Regions from separate parts of the Homo sapiens genome. Here all the other regions are linked to region 1. The links are contacts of gene promoters, found by promoter capture Hi-C in blood cells and fetal thymus (Javierre and others, 2016). All regions are on one chromosome and are shown on one strand. The core of a region is centred on a gene start or on the middle of the fragment in contact, and the rest is flanking DNA. Distances in the headings are between cores, read along the strand shown. Region 1 holds the start of BBIP1 (BBSome interacting protein 1). Region 2 overlaps ADD3 (adducin 3). Region 3 overlaps ADD3 (adducin 3). Region 4 overlaps MXI1 (MAX interactor 1, dimerization protein). Region 5 has its middle 49 kb from the start of SMNDC1.

Evidence for each region. Contacts are between HindIII fragments. The CHiCAGO score rates a contact against its expected background, and 5 or more counts as called.
Region 2: a fragment that was not itself captured here is called in contact with the fragment with the promoter of BBIP1 in region 1 in 1 of 17 cell types (monocytes); the score reaches 6.1 in monocytes.
Region 3: a fragment that was not itself captured here is called in contact with the fragment with the promoter of BBIP1 in region 1 in 2 of 17 cell types (fetal thymus and neutrophils); the score reaches 6.8 in fetal thymus.
Region 4: a fragment that was not itself captured here is called in contact with the fragment with the promoter of BBIP1 in region 1 in 3 of 17 cell types (neutrophils, fetal thymus and monocytes); the score reaches 8.4 in neutrophils.
Region 5: a contact is called between a fragment that was not itself captured here and the fragment with the promoter of BBIP1 in region 1, in 1 of 17 cell types (fetal thymus). The highest score is 6.6, in fetal thymus.

What each region holds. Positions count from the first base shown.
Region 1 is chr10:110,917,002-110,920,774 of GRCh38, reverse strand. BBIP1 (BBSome interacting protein 1) reads left to right here and starts at 1,595. Exons shown (of 4, transcript NM_001195305.3): 1 at 1,595-1,654; 2 at 2,562-2,654. The coding sequence starts at 2,618. It overlaps SHOC2 (SHOC2 leucine rich repeat scaffold protein), which reads right to left and starts at 1,171. Exons shown (of 9, transcript NM_007373.4): 1 at 1,118-1,171. RefSeq lists silencers at 712-801, 812-1,251, 2,102-2,261 and enhancers at 1,472-1,521, 1,542-1,741, 1,431-1,970. The HindIII fragment of the contact is 2,602 bases long and covers 1-2,433 here.
Region 2 is chr10:110,067,060-110,070,832 of GRCh38, reverse strand. The region is part of intron 1 of ADD3 (adducin 3); the gene reads right to left. Among named protein-coding and RNA genes, the nearest start is that of ADD3-AS1, 61 kb to the right of the region's middle. The HindIII fragment of the contact is 3,073 bases long and covers 36-3,108 here.
Region 3 is chr10:110,124,279-110,128,051 of GRCh38, reverse strand. It overlaps ADD3 (adducin 3), which reads right to left. Exons shown (of 15, transcript NM_016824.5): 11 at 2,107-2,226; 12 at 1,549-1,635. Among named protein-coding and RNA genes, the nearest start is that of MXI1, 81 kb to the left of the region's middle. The HindIII fragment of the contact is 543 bases long and covers 1,716-2,258 here.
Region 4 is chr10:110,230,150-110,233,922 of GRCh38, reverse strand. The region is part of intron 2 of MXI1 (MAX interactor 1, dimerization protein); the gene reads right to left. Among named protein-coding and RNA genes, the nearest start is that of MXI1, 24 kb to the right of the region's middle. The HindIII fragment of the contact is 4,532 bases long and covers 1-3,773 here.
Region 5 is chr10:110,352,275-110,356,047 of GRCh38, reverse strand. No RefSeq gene overlaps it. Among named protein-coding and RNA genes, the nearest start is that of SMNDC1, 49 kb to the right of the region's middle. RefSeq lists enhancers at 531-580, 1,411-1,500. The HindIII fragment of the contact is 3,956 bases long and covers 1-3,773 here.

The DNA.
Region 1 (3,773 bases), core at 346-2,845:
CTTCGAAAATATTTCTTTGGGTAGGTTGCAAAACAGTGCTTCCTCTTTTATTCTCATCACCCCCATTACGATACAAAGCAACAGACAAGAAAAATCAAACTGCCAACTGTAAGGGCTTAAACACACACACAAAGCATCTTCTTTCTAGCTCCCGAATCGGTATTTATTCCACCTGTTTGTAAATCCATAATTCCACAATAACACAAACTGCCTGCTTAAAGAAAGGAAGGAAGAAAAGAAAAAGAAAGAAAAGAAATAAAGAGAAAGGCAAGTTAATGCTTTGGAGTCATTACTCTTCCACCTAGGCATGGGGGGAGGGGGATGGTACAAAAACAATGGATATTGAGGTGCTGGGGGAAAAATCGTCTTGCCCCAAAGCCTCTTGTGTTATGAGCCTGGGGAAGTCGGGGAAGAGTGAGACTACTTTTCCTCTCTCCCTAAAAGCTGTGCTATCACGGGGAGAGGTTGCCATCGGGCATGTTCTACGAGGCGGTCTCGAAGGGCTACAACTCGCTTCGCTAGGCAACACACCCAGAGCCGATCCAGCACTCTTCACTCAAGGGTTTTTAGGGAGAGGAGAACGGGAGAGCAAGGTGGACTCCAGGGAGGGGGCGAGAAGAGACCCCACCCTGTATGACCGCCGCTGCGCCCGGGCCCTCGCCAACGATTTACACGACTCGGGGCGCCCTGCGGACTGGGCCCGGGGGCCCAGGGAGCCGAGAGGAGAGAGACTGTCCGCCGGGGGCCCCCGGCCCGCGCCCTCGCGCCGGCTCGCCGTCGCCCAGGCGCTGTCCGGGCCGCCCGCCGCCGCCGCCGCAGGCCCGGCCCCGGCCGCTGTCACACCCGACCGCCTTCCTCTCCGCGCCGGGCTGCAGGCTCCCACGCGAGCCGGCTCCAAGGGCCCCGCACTCCCGGAGACAGCAACCAGGAAAGCGGCGGCGGCGGCGCCTCCCAGGGCCCCGGCCCCTCGGGCCTCGCCCCGGCGCTGCCGGCTCGCGCCTGTCAGGGCGCACGGGGCCTCCCCCTACCGACAGCCAGCCCGACTGCCCGACGGACAGGAAGGCAGGCAGGAAGAACCGACCAACAGACACCCTCCGCCTCATCGGCCCCGAGTTACCGTCAGGAGCCCCGACTCCGCCATCCTCCTCGCTCGCCCTCCTTCCTCCTCTTCCTCCTCCTCCTAAGAAGCGACGCTGCCCAACCGCCGCCCCCCGCCCGCCCCTCCCCCACTCGCCCCGCCCCGCCCGCCCCGCCACTACTCTCGCTCCAGCCTCCCCGCCCCACCCCTCTGCCGTGGGCCCGTCACTCGCTAGGCAAGAAAAATGGGCGGAACCGGGGCAAGAGAAGCTGCCCAATCAGAGACGGGCAGTGCCGCCAGCTTCTCTCTCTCCGCCCTTGTCCTTTCCTCAGTTCCTCTACGCCGTCTCCCGCCCACTGGGCGCCTCTGGCTAGCCGGGCTACAGAGTAAGCCTCCAGCAGGGTAGAGTGACAACTCCCCGATCGGAAGTTACTGTTGAAGCTAAGGCGGCCATAACTGATAATGGCAAAAGGAGATTCCTGGCTTCCTGTTTCCAGGGTGACGTAGATTTTTTTCCTTCGCCAGTCTCACCGTTACCCGGGGCAACAGCTGAGCCGTCTGGGAAGGGATGCATCTGTAAGTAAGCCCAAAGAGGTACCGTGGGTGACCACACATCCCATGTTAGACAAGTTAATTCATACTCCGGATTACACGTCCAGTTTCCTGGCCCTTATTTTACTGAGACGTCTGGTCACTTACGGAGATGGACAACAGTTTAGGGCTCCGAAATTCCCTCTCCTGCCCGGAAGTTGCATTTGGCACTTCCGAATTGGGTCATGGCGGAAGGGTGTTAATAGCCTGGCCGCCCGTGCCCCAGGGAATGCTTATTTTTGACCTTAGTTGCAAAGTGAGGTGAGTCCGTGGACCCCAACCAGTGGGCCGGACCCGGGCCGGACGGTCCCTGTGGGACAGAGCGCTGAAATGGCGAGCGGGGCTCAGGGCCGCTTCCGTTGGAAGGCGGTTTTTTTCCGGGCTGGCCTGGCGGCGGCCCGCCCCCGTGAGGCTCCCTGTGGGGTGAGGCCGCTCTACAGGCCGCCCTAACCCAGCCAGAGGCAGCCCGGCCGGGAGGACCCCAGCGGGGAATGGGCGGGGACCTCGGGGCGGAGCTCCTAACTCCGGCAAAACGGAGCTCTTGACCACGCCTCCGCAAGTTCCTATTAAGTACTTTCACTCCTTGGCCTTTGGAGGGAGGAGAATTCGGGAACTTCAGAAAATCATTTTCCACCTTCACCTATAAAAGGAAAAGATGAGCCCCTACCACCAGGGCAGGACCTCAATCTTTTTCCCCTGCCACCTGCCTTCCCATTCTGATTTTTCCCCCCTTTCCGCGTCTCTCCTTTGAGTCTTTGTAAGCTTTGACTGCGGTTCTGGTGGTGGGATTCCTGCAGGTCTACAGTTTCTTAAACAACGTGTTGAAGATTTTTGAAAATACTGTATTGCTTTTATATGGCCCTTTACAAAGTTATCATACATTATCTTGTAGTTTCTTCTGTATGCTTGAGTCAAGAACTCTAAGTCATCTTGGTAATACCGGGTTGGATGCTTAAAGCTGCAGCAAAAAGACCAGAACTTTCAGGTAAAATTGAAAATGGTTAATATCCAGCCAGTCAACAATACAGATGCAAACCTACCTTCTCGACTTAATTTCTGCTTCCTTAGTACTTACACGCCAGCCAAAATGAACTACTCTTGTTTCTTTGCTGTTAATTACTGAAATCTGTTGTAGCAGTCACCTTTTGTGATTCTGTATCTGATTCTGTTACCCGTGGAGATGTGTTTCCAGATTCTTCCCAGCAGGAAGTAATTTCCTCTGAGTTTAGCATTTTTTGTACATCTTTTATGACAATCAGTATGTTATATATATATAATAGCGCTTATGTTTTTAGCTTCACTACCATGTCTGCACCTAAATAGAATGGTTTGTATCAGATTCGTCTTCCCGTCATTTTCACCATGCACATGATATTATTTTGGTAAATACTTACTGAAAGTTTGAATATATCGGGTGTCTCTTGGATGCCCAAGACACTTCCAGCCAAGTTTTAGAGACCTTCAATTTATCAGAAATTCAGCTGAGCGCCTGCTACTCAATCTTTGTTTTACGTTTCCCCTGTGAAGTCTTTCTGACATGATTTTTTTCCCCAGTGTTTTATTATGAAAGTGTTCATATATTTAAAAGCTGAAAGAAATAATTTAATGAATATTCATGTACCCATCATCTATATGCAGCAGTTAACATTTTGCCATTTTTTTTCATTCCTCCCCACTTTTTCATTGTCATAAAAAGTTGCAGACACTTATTGTTAGGCAAGACACCCTTAAGATTTCCAGCATGAATTTCCTAAGAATTTTGAAGTTCTCCAGCAAAACACAATATCATTATTTCAGCTGTTTTGTAACTTTTAAAATCTAGGCCAAGTGCTAATTTTCCTAATTTACCCAGGAATATCTTTTATACCTTCTCCTTCCCAATCCTGCAAAAAAAAAAAAAAAAAAAAAAAATCAGGATCCAGTCAAAATTTTTCTTTAGCTTTAATGTAGTAGAGTTCCCCCATCTTTTTTCCCCCTGTGACATTGGCATTTTGAAGAGTTCAAGGCAGGAGTCTTTTTGGAAATGGGCCCCTCTTTTTTCTTCTTGTAAACCAGAAGTTAGTCTAGAGGCTTAAGCTGAACATTTTTTTTGCAAGGATATGTC
Region 2 (3,773 bases), core at 323-2,822, 850 kb after region 1:
ATGCTTTAAGAGTCCTCAGATATGATAAGTAAGCTTTTTCCAAGACAGGGCGAGAGACAAGTTTGGTTATCTGCACCCCTACCCCCCAATCTTTATCCTTCAACCCCTGCATAACTCTGCCTGCCTTCAAGCATCTTAATGTGTTTTTCCACTCAATGGTTGATAGATTTGCTATATACTCAGTGGCATGATAGAAGGTGTAACGAAAACAAAAACAAAACTAGTCTGTAAATGTATTTCTTCTGTACATATTAGAGGGATTTCAGTTTACAGAATCATACATACTGCTCCCAAACATAACTAAAGTGTAGAGTATCAATTTATTCTCTGCAACCTACAGCAGTACTGATCACATAACCTACTTTGATTTTAGATTTTTTAAATTTATATTTAAATTCTGAGTTGGTAAATCAATTCACCATATATTTCTTTTCTACTTTTTTCTTAAATACATTTATTCTACTAACTATTCATTCCCCTACTATTACATGCTACAAGTGAACAGGTATCATGGTAAAAAATGTAAGAAATGAACGAGACATTGTCTCTGACCCTAAAATACTAGCAATTTAGTGGGTTGGGGCAGGGGAGAGGGAGAGACAATTGTAGCACACTCTGTTATTATAATAGATATACTACAGATATACTACAGATATATTCAGAGAAAGGAGCCTATTTGAAAGGTTACAGGGCAAGTTACCCTGGAGCTTGGTCTAAAAGGAATGAGTATATATGTATGGGGTGAAGAGGAAAAAGATTAAAAAAAGACAATATATGTTTTAATAAACTTTTAATACATGGCTTTACTTTAAATAAAAGTATCACAGATTACAACTAATACAAAAGGGAAATCAAAATTGCCACTGGGTAACAGTTTACTGTGGTGTGTATAATTTAAGCTACAGGAAGCCTACAATCTATTAGCGAACCACAGTTTTGTGTCATGTGCTTTTGCTTTCACTCTAATCTGACTTGCATGCTAAGAAAAGAAACTCAAAAGCCATTTATATTCTTTTTTAAACAATGCTTGTTCTTACACTGCATTAACCAATGACTTAGAAATAATTAAGACCAATTATCTTGAAAGCCAGTCAAATTGTAATCTGACACCACATCACCATGAAAAGAGGCATAAGAATGTTCTAGGTTAATACTAAGGTCAGTAAACAAATTTCATGGTCAAGGTGGCACTACATTATACTACACCCTATGAGCTCAAATCCTTAAAAGCATCAAGTATAAGCAAGGTAGATTTAATGGGAGAGGGTGGGAAGGGGAAAAAAAAAACACAACTAATAAGCATTATGTTTTGTAAGGCACTTAAGTTCTAAGGTTCACTGGCCCAGAAAGCTGTTGATATATGAGAAAGGTTACTTTTGTGGATTGAAAAATGGGCTAAGGTGATTAAATATACATTTAAAGCTGAAAGGGATGATATGTTAAATTGCTGAGACTGGGTCACTCATTTGATCAACTTACTATTGATGAGAAAATGCCACAGGGTTAATGTTTAAGATGCTTCCACACTGAAGTACAAATAAATAACAAATCTTCCATTTTTATGAAGAAGAATATGCAGATCATTTACAGCATATACAATCATGACAACCTGAGAGGAAAAATCCTTTAAAATGGAAAAATTAAGGTAGGATTATTTATGTAAATTATTTAAAGATTCCTTGCCAGGTTGTCTTAAATAGTAATCGCACCTGCATTTAACCATGTTATACTGAGATACAGGCAATTTTTTTTTTTTAAGACAGGGTCCCACTCTATTGCCCAGGCTGGGTGCAGCGGCATGATCATGGCTCACTGCAGCCACAACCTCCCCGGGCTCAAATAATCCTCCCAGCTCAGCCTCCCAAGTAGCTGGGACCACAGGCTCACATGACCACGCCCAGCTAATTTTTCTATTTTTTGCAGAGACGAGGTCTCACCACGTTGCCCAGGCTGATCTCAAACTCCTGCGCTCAAGTGATCCAGCTCCCTCAGCCTCCCAAAGTGCTGGGATTACAGGAATAAGCCACCATGACCAGCCACTAGCCAACTTTTTAGGAGCATATACTTTATATAAAGCAAGGGCTGTAAGTACTTTATACTAATGAATTCACACCTACAACATCTAAACTTTGACAAAAAAGAAAAAATCCTTTTGCCTTTCAAAACGTTCACTTCAGGAGTTTAATCCTGGAGTAGGAAATCCTCAATGAATTCTTTGGACAGTGTATATGTACAGCTGTCCCTAGGTATCCATCAGGGATTAGTTCTAGGACCTCCCATGGCCACCAAAATCCAGGATGCTCAAGTCTCTGATATAAAATGAAGTGGTATCTGCATAAAACTTTGTACTTCCTCCTGAATACTTTGAATCATCTCTAGATTACTTATGATGCCTAATACAATGTAAATGCTATGTAAGTAGTTATTCTGTATTTTTACTCTAATATTTTCAATCTGTGGTTGGTTGAATCTGAGAATGCGAAACCCTCAGAAGTGGAGGGCCAACTGTAACTTCCTCAGAAGATTCAGAGAAAGGAGGGGGGGAGGTGGAAAAGCTCATGACAATTGCTTCTGAACTTCTGAGAAGCAAAGTGACAGGAGCAGTACAAAAACTCGGTGGAAGCGGGAAAAGGAGGAGCTAAGAAACCAGATGAAGAGACAATATAGGGAGCCAAGGGTGACATGAGATAAGGGGATCAAGTAACTGTGGCAGCCAAAGACGCTGGGCCACACCCATAGAGAGCTATGTGGCTTATTTCAAGGGGGTGGAACACTGAGCAAGTGAACAATTTTGGTTTTGTTTAACTGAAAGGTTGCACAATCCTGTAAATGGGGGAAGGAAAGGGGGTGTTTTTCCAGTATAGAGAAAGTTAGGATAAATAGTTATCCCTTTAAAAAATATTAAACAAAGAGAAGTAATAACTAAATCATTCAAAGGAATATGAAAAAAACAAAGCAAATCAAAGCAAAAATAATCTAGCATTGTTGGTGTTTTAGAAAAGCGATGTATACCTTATACATGAAAATGAAAAACTGAGAACCTTGAGGAAAGAAATATAAACTCTATGTAAACCCAGAACATTACTTATTGACTGTCATGATGAAGCTTTTTATCTTGTGGACCATGCCATCCTTCAAACTACAAGATCCCCATAAAGTACACTGACACGAATTTTGGGGTATGTGGATCAGTGTAAGGTTCTTCCTCACTCCAACTTTAAATATGGCAGCTTATAGAAATAATTCTCAATGACTGGATTCTTAAAACTTAATCCAAGATAAGCAATACTGTGACTCCTGTGGGATATTTCCAAGTTATTAATCTGAAACAGTTCTCAACCTCTTTAAACTCATTCCTGCTGGTCCAATATAATAAATGATATGATGCTTTAAATAAAAAGGGGAGGTGGAGGGAAGAAAGAAGGCCCAAGTTAGCACCTCTGAAGTTGCTTTAAAGTTTATAAAAACTGCAAATGAGAAGTAATAACATAATATACATTTATTGTATTTTTCAATCATGTGGCTAGAAACTACAGAAATAATTTTAGAAAGGCTTTCTTCCAGGTGCAAATTACTTTATTTGATTTCACGTTTAACAGTTACTGCCTTTACTACACTCTAGGAAATGAAAGTTGAAAAATATTTCAGGTTTTTTATAGATGATTTATTAATCAAATCTACTGATTTTTCTAAGCATTAATATCTTCCTACAGGAATTTTTTTAAAAGGCACTATACAGTTAACAAGCATTTGCTTTCACCATAATACAAAAG
Region 3 (3,773 bases), core at 738-3,237, 790 kb after region 1:
AATCCTAAACAAAGGTTCAGGAATTCCAATGCCTTCCTACTTCAACAATAAAATAGGGAACAGAATGATGCTTTTCTTATTTCAGGGGAAAATTATTTCTAAACTATTCTATATCCATTATATGCACATTTGAAGATAGAATAAAGGCATTTCAGACTGTTACCACCTATGTATCCTTTTCTCGGAAAGCTATTAGAGGGTGCGTTCTACAGTAAAGGAGGAAATCAAGAAAGCAGAAGACACAAGATACAGGAAACGGAATACAATATAGATCAGCAGCACAGGAATCCTCCAGATGAACCTGTGCAGCTGGCCTGAGAGCAACCAATTTAGATTTGGATCAGAATGAAGGGGGGCTGGAACAGAGAGATTACCTGTTGACTTTCACCCTGTGGAAAATAATATTAGGACAGATTTTATGTTATTCTTATTTTTTGAGACGGAGTCTCGCTCTGTCACCAGGCTGGAGTACAGTGGCATGATCTTGGCTCACTGCAACCTCTGCCTCCCGGGTTCGAGTGATTCTCCTGCCTCAGCCTCCTGAGTAGCTGGGACTACAGGTGCACGCCACCACGCACAGCTAATTTTTGTATTTTCAGTAGAGATGGGGTTTCACCATGTTGGCCAGGATGGTCTTGATCTCTTGACCTCGTGATCTGCCCGCCTCGGCCTCCCAAAGTGCTGGGATTACAGGCGTGAGCCACTGCACCCAGCCGGGACTTTATAATTCTTTTAAAAAGTTCGGGAAGAACTAAGCCAATGTACCCCAAATAATAAGCCAATGAAAAAAAGGCAAGGTGAGAGTAGGGAGGGGTGACTTATGTAAGAAAGGAAATACTACCTGGCTTAGCAGCAAACATGTAGTAATATAAATAACGAAAGCTGATCTAACAGAAAAAAACAAAAAACAAAAAACAAAAACTGTGATGTATCCTTACTGGGAGAATGGGGAGAGGGAAAAAGGGAAGCACTGTATAAACAGGCTAAATCCCCATCTTTCAAAAATATTTCATTAATTCTAAGATGAACTTTTTCCATCTCTGAAATTGGGAACAATTATAATTGGCAGTGTTTTTTCTCTTTTAGTGACATATAAAACAATGGTACTTCTTATAACGGATAACACAGATTTGATGAAAAATAGTCAAGGTCTAAAACTGATAGACCAAGAAAAAGCAGAAGATGCTCTTTAGAAACATCAAAGGAGGACGAGGAGCAGTGGTTTATACCTGTAATCCCAATACTTCAGGAGGTCAAGGCTGGAGGATCACCTGAGATCAGGTGTTCACGACTATCCTGGGCAACAGAGTGAGACCTCATCTCAACTAACTAACCAGAAACACCAAAGTAAACATTAGAAGCAATGAAAAGAACAGAAAGTTGCTGCACCTGGAAACTGGGAATTGTGGGTGACATTTTAAATCTTGTGAGTTGACTTTTTAACTTGTGCTTATATTAACCTTAGTAAAAATAAATATTCATATTTAAAAATCAATGAAATTAATGTGGTAAATAAAAAACAAAGATCATACTACTTCATAAACTTACAGAAGGTGGCTTATCCACAACAATTCCAGCAAGCAACTGAGATTGTGGTCCTGCTGTTTTCAAGTCATATCGATTTTGTTCCCGAATCTGAATTGAAAAACAATTCAATATAAAGTTCTTGAGGGCAACTATGCAGATGACCTTTGCTTTATCTTTTCATAAAAGCTTACTACTTGACATTTCCAGAGTGAGAGTCTCTTCAATTCCCACCTCCATAAAGACCTCTTTTACCATCCTAACAACTCATATTAGTCTCCTCTGCTCTTTATGGCAAGTTATTTCCTTTCGTCTTAGGTTGTTAGAGAACTGCATTTTCCCCCTAATAGCAGGGTTCTCTAACGCAGAAAAATGTTCAATACATCTTCCCCATGTAGCCTGTTCACCAATTACTAGCACAGAGCTGGAGGCATTCAATATAAGCTAAAATTATACTGAATTAAATTCCAAATTCTTCTGTATTCAAACTTCTAAGTTTGGCATTAACCAGATTCAACCACTGGTGATTTAAACATAAAGCAATTAAAATGTCTCCCCTGGCTATAGAAGACCATGTCTTACCTTATTTCTCTTTTCTAGTACCTCATTCGGGTTTGTGTTTAAAGGAACAAACTGATTTGGATCTTCAATTTTGATAGGTGTTCCACCACTAACTTTAGATGAGTCTTCTGCTTTCATCCACTAAAGAATCAAAAATTTTCTAAAATGAAGCTTTGTGTTAAGAAAATATTAGTAGATTGTTAGATAACTGCTTATAGTCTCAAGAGGGGCATTGCCAATGTTTAAATAATTTCACTAAGCAGTATCTTAGTGGTGAATTAGTTTCATCTCATACTAGTTAGAAAAGGCTCAAAATCAACATTTACTTAAAAAATAAATGCCATTACGATTCACATAAATATTCAATTATACTGCTAATTAAACTTTCTCCTTGTGTCAAGTGAAAATATGATGCTGAAACTACTTCAAGCACAGAGAGCATGATCTCACATTCACTCACATTCAGTGTTTTGTCTTCTGCACTGAAGACAGCAGTCAGATGAAGATGGCAAAGGAGTAATCAAAAAAAAAAAAAACTTAAGAAATATCTTAAGATTTTAGTTTATCAGACTTCACTTTTTATTTTTGGCTGACAGAAAAGGCCAAGCCCTAATCGGCATTTTATAATGGGGATAATCTGGTATATAATAGCAAAATAGAACCACGGGGTTGGAAGGAGCTTACATAATTCTTCTCATTTACCCCATATTATAATCCTTAAAGAAAGCGAATCTCGATCAAGATTAATGATGGCTGACCATCAATCTCTGTAAACAAAATGAATTCTGAGAAACCAATGAGTTTAATTATGTTCTTTTACTGGGAGGCAAGAAATCTTATAGACTACAGAAAAGACATTTTGATGCCTAGGTATTTTCATATTGAATGCCATTAGTTTATATAAGATGAACTAATTCTGAATATCTAGAACTGTGGTGTCCAATCTTTTGACTTCCCTGGGCCACATTGGAAGAACTGTCTTGGGCCACATATAAAATACACCAACACTAACGATAGCTGATTAGTTTAACAAAATCACAAAAAATTCTCATAATGTTTTAATAAAGTTTACAAATTTGTGTTGAGCTGCATCCAAAGCCATCCTGGGCCATGGACTGGACAAGACTGACCTAGAGAATGTTTGGTGGTATGCACTCCAAAACCAAACCAAACCAAATCTAATGCAAAATTCTGAAAAAGATAAAATAACCCATTTCTCTACCTACAAGATCTTGCCTAAGGGTAGCTATGTGCAGTGATTCATGCAGCTTTGGTACAATTAGGAGTTGATAACTTTTACAGTTTTAATTCACTGGTGAATTAAACTACTGGTGTAGTTTAATAGAAACTACAAAGCAGTATCATGTAGTGGACAAGAACTGGGCTCAAGAGTCAGACTGTCTTCATGCAAATCCCGAGTTTACCATTAAAACATGATTAATTAACCCTTCTTGCCTTGGTTTTCTCATCTATAAAATAGAAAAACAGCATCATTCATATTAGGAGAGTTAAATGAGAAAATTCGTGTATGGCACTTAGAAGAGTGTCTTGCACAAAGTTAAAGCCAGATAAGTGACAGTAATATTTTTAATATTATTTTACTTTCCAAATATTTTCAATATAGAACATTCAATTCTTGAGTAACTAGGCAAAATATTTAGTAAAGGCAAACTACATAAAATACTGGC
Region 4 (3,773 bases), core at 757-3,256, 690 kb after region 1:
GACTAGGAACAGAAACAGCTGTCCTACTGACTTACAAGGCATGATCATACAAGTTTCCTTCAATACTTCCATAGAGGAATATAACCTTAAGAAACCCAGCAATAGCAAACTTACACTTCAAAGAAGCATTTAAAGGAAAGCCTCAGTTTTTTTAGTATAAGGCATATAAGTAATTCTTGGGAATTTTTCATTTAAGTCAATTTTGGTAGAAGACAGACTATCACAAAACACATTTCACTGGATGTGTTAATCACTCAAAATGCAGAAAATACTTAAGAATAATAACAACATCATTAAGAGTTTAACTGCTACTAATCTACATTTTTGTCCTGAAACTTTGGGAGTTTTCTACGGAACAAAGACCCAGAAACTACTTTTTAATATAAAAAAATTTGAAAAACACAGAATAGTAGAAAAAAATTACACAAAAATAAAAATAAGGCTTCATTCAATTCTTCTGTGAACAAATAGGTTCACGTAGAATAAAGAGAAGATAAAGCATCTCAAATTACTACTGGAAAAAATCCTTTGAAACTATCCTAGGAAAATAATTCACCACCATCCCTCTCCCCAGAAAAACTAAAAATCCATGAAGATAGCTGAAAAGGATGCAAAGCTAAAAAATAACAATACAATAATTCTATCTAAAATAAGACTAAAGCATTTCTTTATTCTACAGTTTAAGAAAAATTAAACTAAAGCCTTATAAACAACAGAAAAGTTGTTTTTTAGTGTCCTCAATCTTAGAAAGTGGAACTGAGATACTGCTTTTATGAGATTCTTTAGTATCCATAGGACACTAAAGAGAAGAAATATATCAACTTGAAATTAAAGCATAAATTGGCTATTTACTACTTCCCAGATTACCTTAAAACAATGCAATTACTATGTGTGTGTCACAGGCTCATATGAATATTTATTGCCAATATCTGAAAGACTTCTGTTTCTTTCAATATGCAAGTTTGGTATTATTTTATTTTCATGACACAGGATGACACTGAATGTTCTTCAAAATTAAGTGTAGCATTCTGTAGCCTGCTTGTTTAAAAGAATTGACAGTTTAGAGATTTTTATTCTTTAAATACTACATGCTGTTTTTCCAAATGTATCATTAACATCCCTTGGAACACAAAGTAATCAGAGTTTGCCAAAACAGGGGTTTTATCACTCTTCCTTCCAGTCTAATATGGTACTCAGCACAAAAAAGAAATTCAATTTAAGACAGTCTGCTTGGAGTTTGAAAACCTTCCATTCTTTAAGAAACACATACTATTTACGGGGCACTGTGATAAGTACTAGGGATAAATGTTTAAGCAGAAGAGACTCAATCCCTGCCCGCCTCGCAGGGTTTTTAATCCAGTGAATAGGACACGAATTTAAGAAACAACTGGATAACTGTATTTCTACAAATGTGATGAACACTATGAAGGAAAAATAGGGGTGCCATGAAGTATGTGAAGACCTGATCTACTACGGCAGATGAGGAAACATTCCTGAGGAACTTATGATTGAGCTGAAGAAGAGTGTTATTCAACAGAGATAACAAAGGGGGAGGGAAAATGATTCCCTGCAGGGAACAGAAAGTATGCAAAGATCTTGAGGTAGAAGAAAACGCGTACTGAAGGAATCAAAAGAAGGCTGGCCAATGTAATTCATAAGAACTGGCCAAGTGCGGTGGGTCACACCTGTAATCCCAGCACTTTGGGAGGCCAAGCCGGGCGGTTCATGAGGTCAGGAGATTGAGACCATCCTGGCTAACACAGTGAAACCCTGTCTCTACTAAAAATACAAAAAATTAGCCGGGCATGGTGGCAGGCACCTGTAGTCCTAGCTACTCGGGAGGCTGAGGCAGGAGAATGGCGTGAACCCAGAAGGCAGAGCTTGCAGCGAGCTGAGATCGCGCCACTGCACTCCAGCCTGGGCAACAGAACCAGACAAAAAAAAAAACTGTAGTTGCAGGGACACCAGGTAGGAAGTTACTGCAGTCGTCCAAGTAAGAGATGATGGTAGCTGAGATTAGGAGGATAGTAATGAAGGTAACAGGAAAGAAGGCCGACTGAAGAGATATTTAGGAAGAAATCAGTGTTACACTGCAGTCATGGCTTATTTAGTAGAGTTTTAAGGATGACAGACCTTGAGATTTTTCACCTGTGGTACCAAATAGTAAAGAAGCTGGAATTTGAACTTATCTGATGCTCCCCAAAAAGCCAGATAGCTATTGCAGCCACATTCTCTAACAGCAGTAACATCTTAGCAATGTTGATTTTTGGAAGTGTGCCAGAAGGCTGTGACCAAGACCACAGTAAAATCAAGCATTTATTTTAATTATATATTATAGGTGCCACTTCCAACTATCAGAAGGATCCCAAATGATAAAATTACTGGTATTTGCAAGGAACATATTTGTAATATCACATTATATCATTTATTTTCTCTCCTTTTTACTTCTTTGAAAATAAGATTTTAAGGAATGGGGGAAAGGGGAATAGGAATTTATAATATTAGGAGTTAACTACTTTCAGCATAAATTTATAAAGTTACTTTTTTGAGGGGGGGGGGGTGGATTATCACTCTGTTGCCCAGGCTGGAATGCAGTGATGCAATCTCAGCTCACTGCAACCTCCGCCTCCCAAGTTCCAGCAATTATCCTGTCTCAGCCTCCCAAGTAGCAGAGATTACAGGCACACACTACCACACCTGGCTAATTTCTGTATTTTTAGTAGAGACAGGGTTTCATCATGTTGGCCAGGCTGGTCTCGAACTCCTGACCTCAGGCAATCCACCTACCTCAGCCTCCCAAAGTGCTGGAATTACAGGCGTGAGCCACTGCACCCTGCCTAAAGTAACATTTTATCAGGCATATCATATAATACCTGAGAATATCAGGGGTAAAATAGTCAATCACCATTATATCTTAAAGATGCTACGATGTCAGAGAAACAAATGTCATTTTATAACATACATCAGTGTTCAAGATGTATAGTAATAAAATAACAGCTACTTCCACACTAGTAGCTTTTTGATCAGGAAAAAATAAGACATATATACTTATGAAGTCCATTCCTTTCCTTGTTTCAGATGATAAATACATGGAAATTTCTGTAAGTCTTCTAACTTTCTGCTTTATGTAACCAGCATAATAAAATCTCATTAAAATCCAATAGTAAACTTAAAATTAAGAAGAAGCCTACAGTGTCCTCTTTCAAATGGACCAACACTATTGTCCAAATACCCCAGTATTGGAATTTCTACCTCAGCTCTCCTTACTTCCATGAAGCAGGCATTTTAAATAAGTGGCAAAGGAGAAATAATTTCTAGTGTTTCATTTTAACATACTAGTTCTCTCTCATAAGCCCCAGCCCAAAACCCACACATTGGTGGATCTTGAGATAATATATTCTAAAATATATTTTTCTCTCTCTCTCTCTTTCTTGCTACTTATATTCCCATAAAAAAAGTATCTTCTCCTGTTTTAGGTGGTCTAATGTACACATATTCTCCTTTGGGCACTATCAGAACAATATGGCATGCTTGCAGTTTTACAAATTTTCCGACATGCTATGCTAAAACACAGTAATTAGCACTGTGGTCCCACACATAATATTAGAATCCTAACAGAGACACTAGCATGAAAGAGAAACATCACTTAGCCCAAACCCCAAGCTGAGCAAAGCGTAAGTCAACAGATGACTAAGAGTTTCTTATTAATGACCGGTAACATAATTGATAAAACTTAGGAATGTGCATCTTATTTATGCCTCTATAATCCTTGA
Region 5 (3,773 bases), core at 711-3,210, 570 kb after region 1:
TGGTAAGAGCACCTCGGATGAGGCTTCTGAAAGCTGTGGGCTGGTGGACATCACCCAGGGCAGGTGTTCCTAACATTTTTGGGGTCTTGGTTGCCTTTGAGAATTGAATGAGAGTTATGGAACCTCCCCCAGAACAATGTCTACTCAAGTCTACCAAATTTTACCTACAGTTTTAGGGATTCTTAGATTCCCTAAAGCCTATCTGCAGATCCCAGATAGGGAACCGGTTACCTAGTGCGGTCCACTCATTTCACAGATGAGGCAACAAATCCCAAAGGGGTGAGCAACTTGTGCAAGGTCACCCAACTGGACTCGGATCCAGCTCTTGACTGCCTCCTTTTCTCTATTGTAACAGTTATGCCTTCAGCACTGGACAGGGAGTGGGGTCTTCAGGGGAAGGAGACCCCAAGTTAGGTCCCCTCAGAGGGTCTTTCTTATGTCTTTTCGTCTATCCTGGACACATATTTTTGCCTAGTGCAGCTCAGGGAGGGCAGGATGATGGCTTTGAAATACAAACACAGACAGGAAAAAAAGACTCCCACAACATGTGAGTATAAATGCAATAAGAAACATAAAGGAGAGAGAGAGAAAGCAAGAGAAGTTGTAAGCAAATAATATGCAAAGCTCCTGAGAAAGAACTTGGGCTGCTCTGTTTGGTAGCTGGAGACCTGGGGCCTGGGGAAATCCCAGAAAAAGTCAAATCTGATTGGGCCCTAGCTGAGGCCCTGTCCTCTCGCTTCGCTCTCTCCCTTCCTACCCACCTTGGTTTGGGGTCCGCTTGGTGCCCCAAGCTGTGTGCTTTGCAGGTGTGACTGCTTCTTCCTGCACAGCTTCTCCCTCCCCCAGCCTCAGCATCCCCCCCGCCCCGCGACCCCAAAGCTGCACAGCTGTCTGGATGCTTCCTCTGAGCCCCAACAAACTTAGATCTCCTGGTACCACCCCCCCCCCCTTGGCACCTGGCTCTTCTTTTTCATGGCATATAGAATCACTTACAGTTTTGTATTTATTTGTTTCAGGTCCATGTGCTTCTGTGAGACCTTAAGCTCTGTGTGAGCAGGGCCTAGGTCCTTGGTGCCTTTGGCCTGGCATGTGGAGGCTGTCTCCCATCCCTTGCTGATTTAAACAAATGGTGGCATCTGGAGGTTTGGATCAGGGCATAGGAATAAATGCCCGCTGGGCCACTCATTCCTGAAATCCTGTCCAGGCCTGAGTGCAACTGGGAGCTTGCTTAAGCCTTTAGCCTGTAGGCACAAACGGTAGATGAGCAGGTGGTCAGTGCAGTGAATGGGCCCAGATCCTCAGAGCGGAGCCACCAGCCAAGCAGGCGCAGACCTCCAGGGCTCCTCTGTGTATCTTTAAAGTGGGTTCTGGATGCTCCCTCCTTTTCTCAAGAGCCTGTCTCTGAGTTGTGAGGCTCCCTCAAATTCCCAGTTGGCTGGCTCACCAGCGGTCATGCCAGGGGCTGTCAGCCAAGGTCGTGAGTAGATGGCTGAGATGGGCATCCTCTGAGGGCTGCACACATCAGTAATGAGGAAGAAGCTCTGAAACAGCGCCCTCTCCTGTCCGCTGGACTCGCCTCCAGATAATGGAGCTGTCTTGAGGGAACAGCCTGTCGTTCATACTCCGTATTTTCCCTTTCATTCCATTTAGTGTAGGGTAGAGTGTATTCTTTTTCTTTTTTTCAACTTGACACCCATGACTCCGTGACAGATCGCCATCTGTCATGTGTGTGTGACTACCTCCCTACTAAGGGCCAGGGAGCCCTGATCAAGTATTCTTTCTTCTTCCTCTGTTTCTTCTCAGTGTTGGGTTGCTGGGGTGGGGAGGGGAAGGATTTATGTGATAAAGAAGCCTGAGGTACAACCTCAGTTGTACCTCAGTTTCTCTCCTCCCAGGCTTGCTGCCCGGGGAGCAGGGGCTGTAGAAGGAGAGCACTGTTACCAACTGTAGCCAAATTCACCTTAACAGTTTCTCACCCCGCCCTTGTCTCATCCACCCCCCCAGCAACTAGGAGCCAGATCTGACCACAGATACCCAGGGATGGGCGGGGGGGCCAGGGCCAGGTGAGTTCATCCCAGCAGGTGGGTGCCTGCTCCAGCCTGCCCCTTGCTTCCTCTGAAACACACTGCAGCAGAGCAGCCTCCTTCCCTCTCCCAACCTTAGATGAAATAATCAGTATGAAATTTTCTGTCTCCTGACAAGATGCCACATACTTAATTTTCTTGCACCAATCACCTCTGCAGGAAGATAGGAAATAAACTATGATAGGATAATTACACAGCTGAATACAACTGACTGGTGCTCTTGGGGGTGAGGTTGGGGGAGGGGGAGGGTACACCCAGCATTCTCATCCTCTCTAGTTAATCACGATGTGGCTTTCAGCAGAGCCACAGCCTCAGTAGAAGCGAGACGTCCTCATGGCTAAGTGACGAGTCTCTCAGCGTCATGACAGTGCCCAGCAGCCTCCCTCCCTGCCTTACTCAACGCTGACTATGCCTTAGATCACTGCATCGTGGCTTCAGCACTTTGTCTATGTTCCGGAAAAGCCTTTGCTCTGTCATAGCTTCCCTGACCTCCCAAGGCCAGTGCATCAAAACAGTCACCATCCTGAGAATAACGTTTCTGCTCCCAGGTGAGCGGCAGGCATCACACATCAGGGTGTCTGGGGCTGTCAGGAAAATGGTAAGGAAATATGCACGTGGAAAGAAACAGCTGGCACTTTTTACAGAATCTAGCACTGGGTGTTTATTGCGGCAGAGCTCCATACATTCTTGTTGAATGAATTGATGAATACCCAGGGTTCCTAAGGATATGAGCTGCTAAACTGGGGGGACTCTGCACACAGTCTCTGGCATGGATTGCCCAGCATCGAACCTTGGCTCTGCCCCTTGCTAGCTGTGTGAGCTCCAGCATACTTCTTGATCTCTCTGTGTGCCTACTTCCTCACCTCTAAAATGGGGATGATAATAATAATAATTAATAATTAAGCATTGTTATGTGTAAAGCACTTAAAATACTTCCTGGCACACAATGAGCACCGTGTTAAGTGTTTGCTATTGTTAAGACTACAAAAATAGTCACTCCAAGGAATTGAATGTTACTTTTAACCAGGAGCTGTGAATTTCCTTATCTGGTAGGCATTCACCCCTCCCACCCCCACAAGCTCCTGCCCCACGCATGACACCATCTACTGCAGGGATTTGCAGGTTTTACTGTAAAGGGTCAAATAATAAATATTTTAGACTTTGCAGATCACAGTTTCTATCCCAGCCACTCAACTCTGCAGCCATAGTGTGACAACATGTAAATGAGTGAGCAAGGCTATGTTCTAAGAAACCTTTTTTAATACAAAAGCAGGAGGTGGGTCAGATTTAATCCACTTTGTTAATTTCTGACCTATTGCAACTCATTTTACAAAACAACTGCTCAATTCCTACCTCTTCTAAGAGCCTACCTACTTGTACTTTCCCTCCCTGGACTTCAAAATCACTGGGCTTAGAGGGAGCTTAGTACCATGGAAAGAATATGCAAGAAATGTGGATTAAGCTCTGGCCCTGCTGCATGACTTTGAACAAAGCACTTACGATCTCTGGAGCCTCAGTTTACCCATCTGCAAAATAGATTTAAGATTCTTTTGTCTTACTTACCTAATAAGGCAGTTTGAACGTCCAATAGAGAAATGCATACGGATGTGACTTGCAAACTTGAAAGCACTACCCAGTGGAAGTACATCTGCACGGTGTCCCCAGTGCCCAGCCCAGTGCTTGGTACGC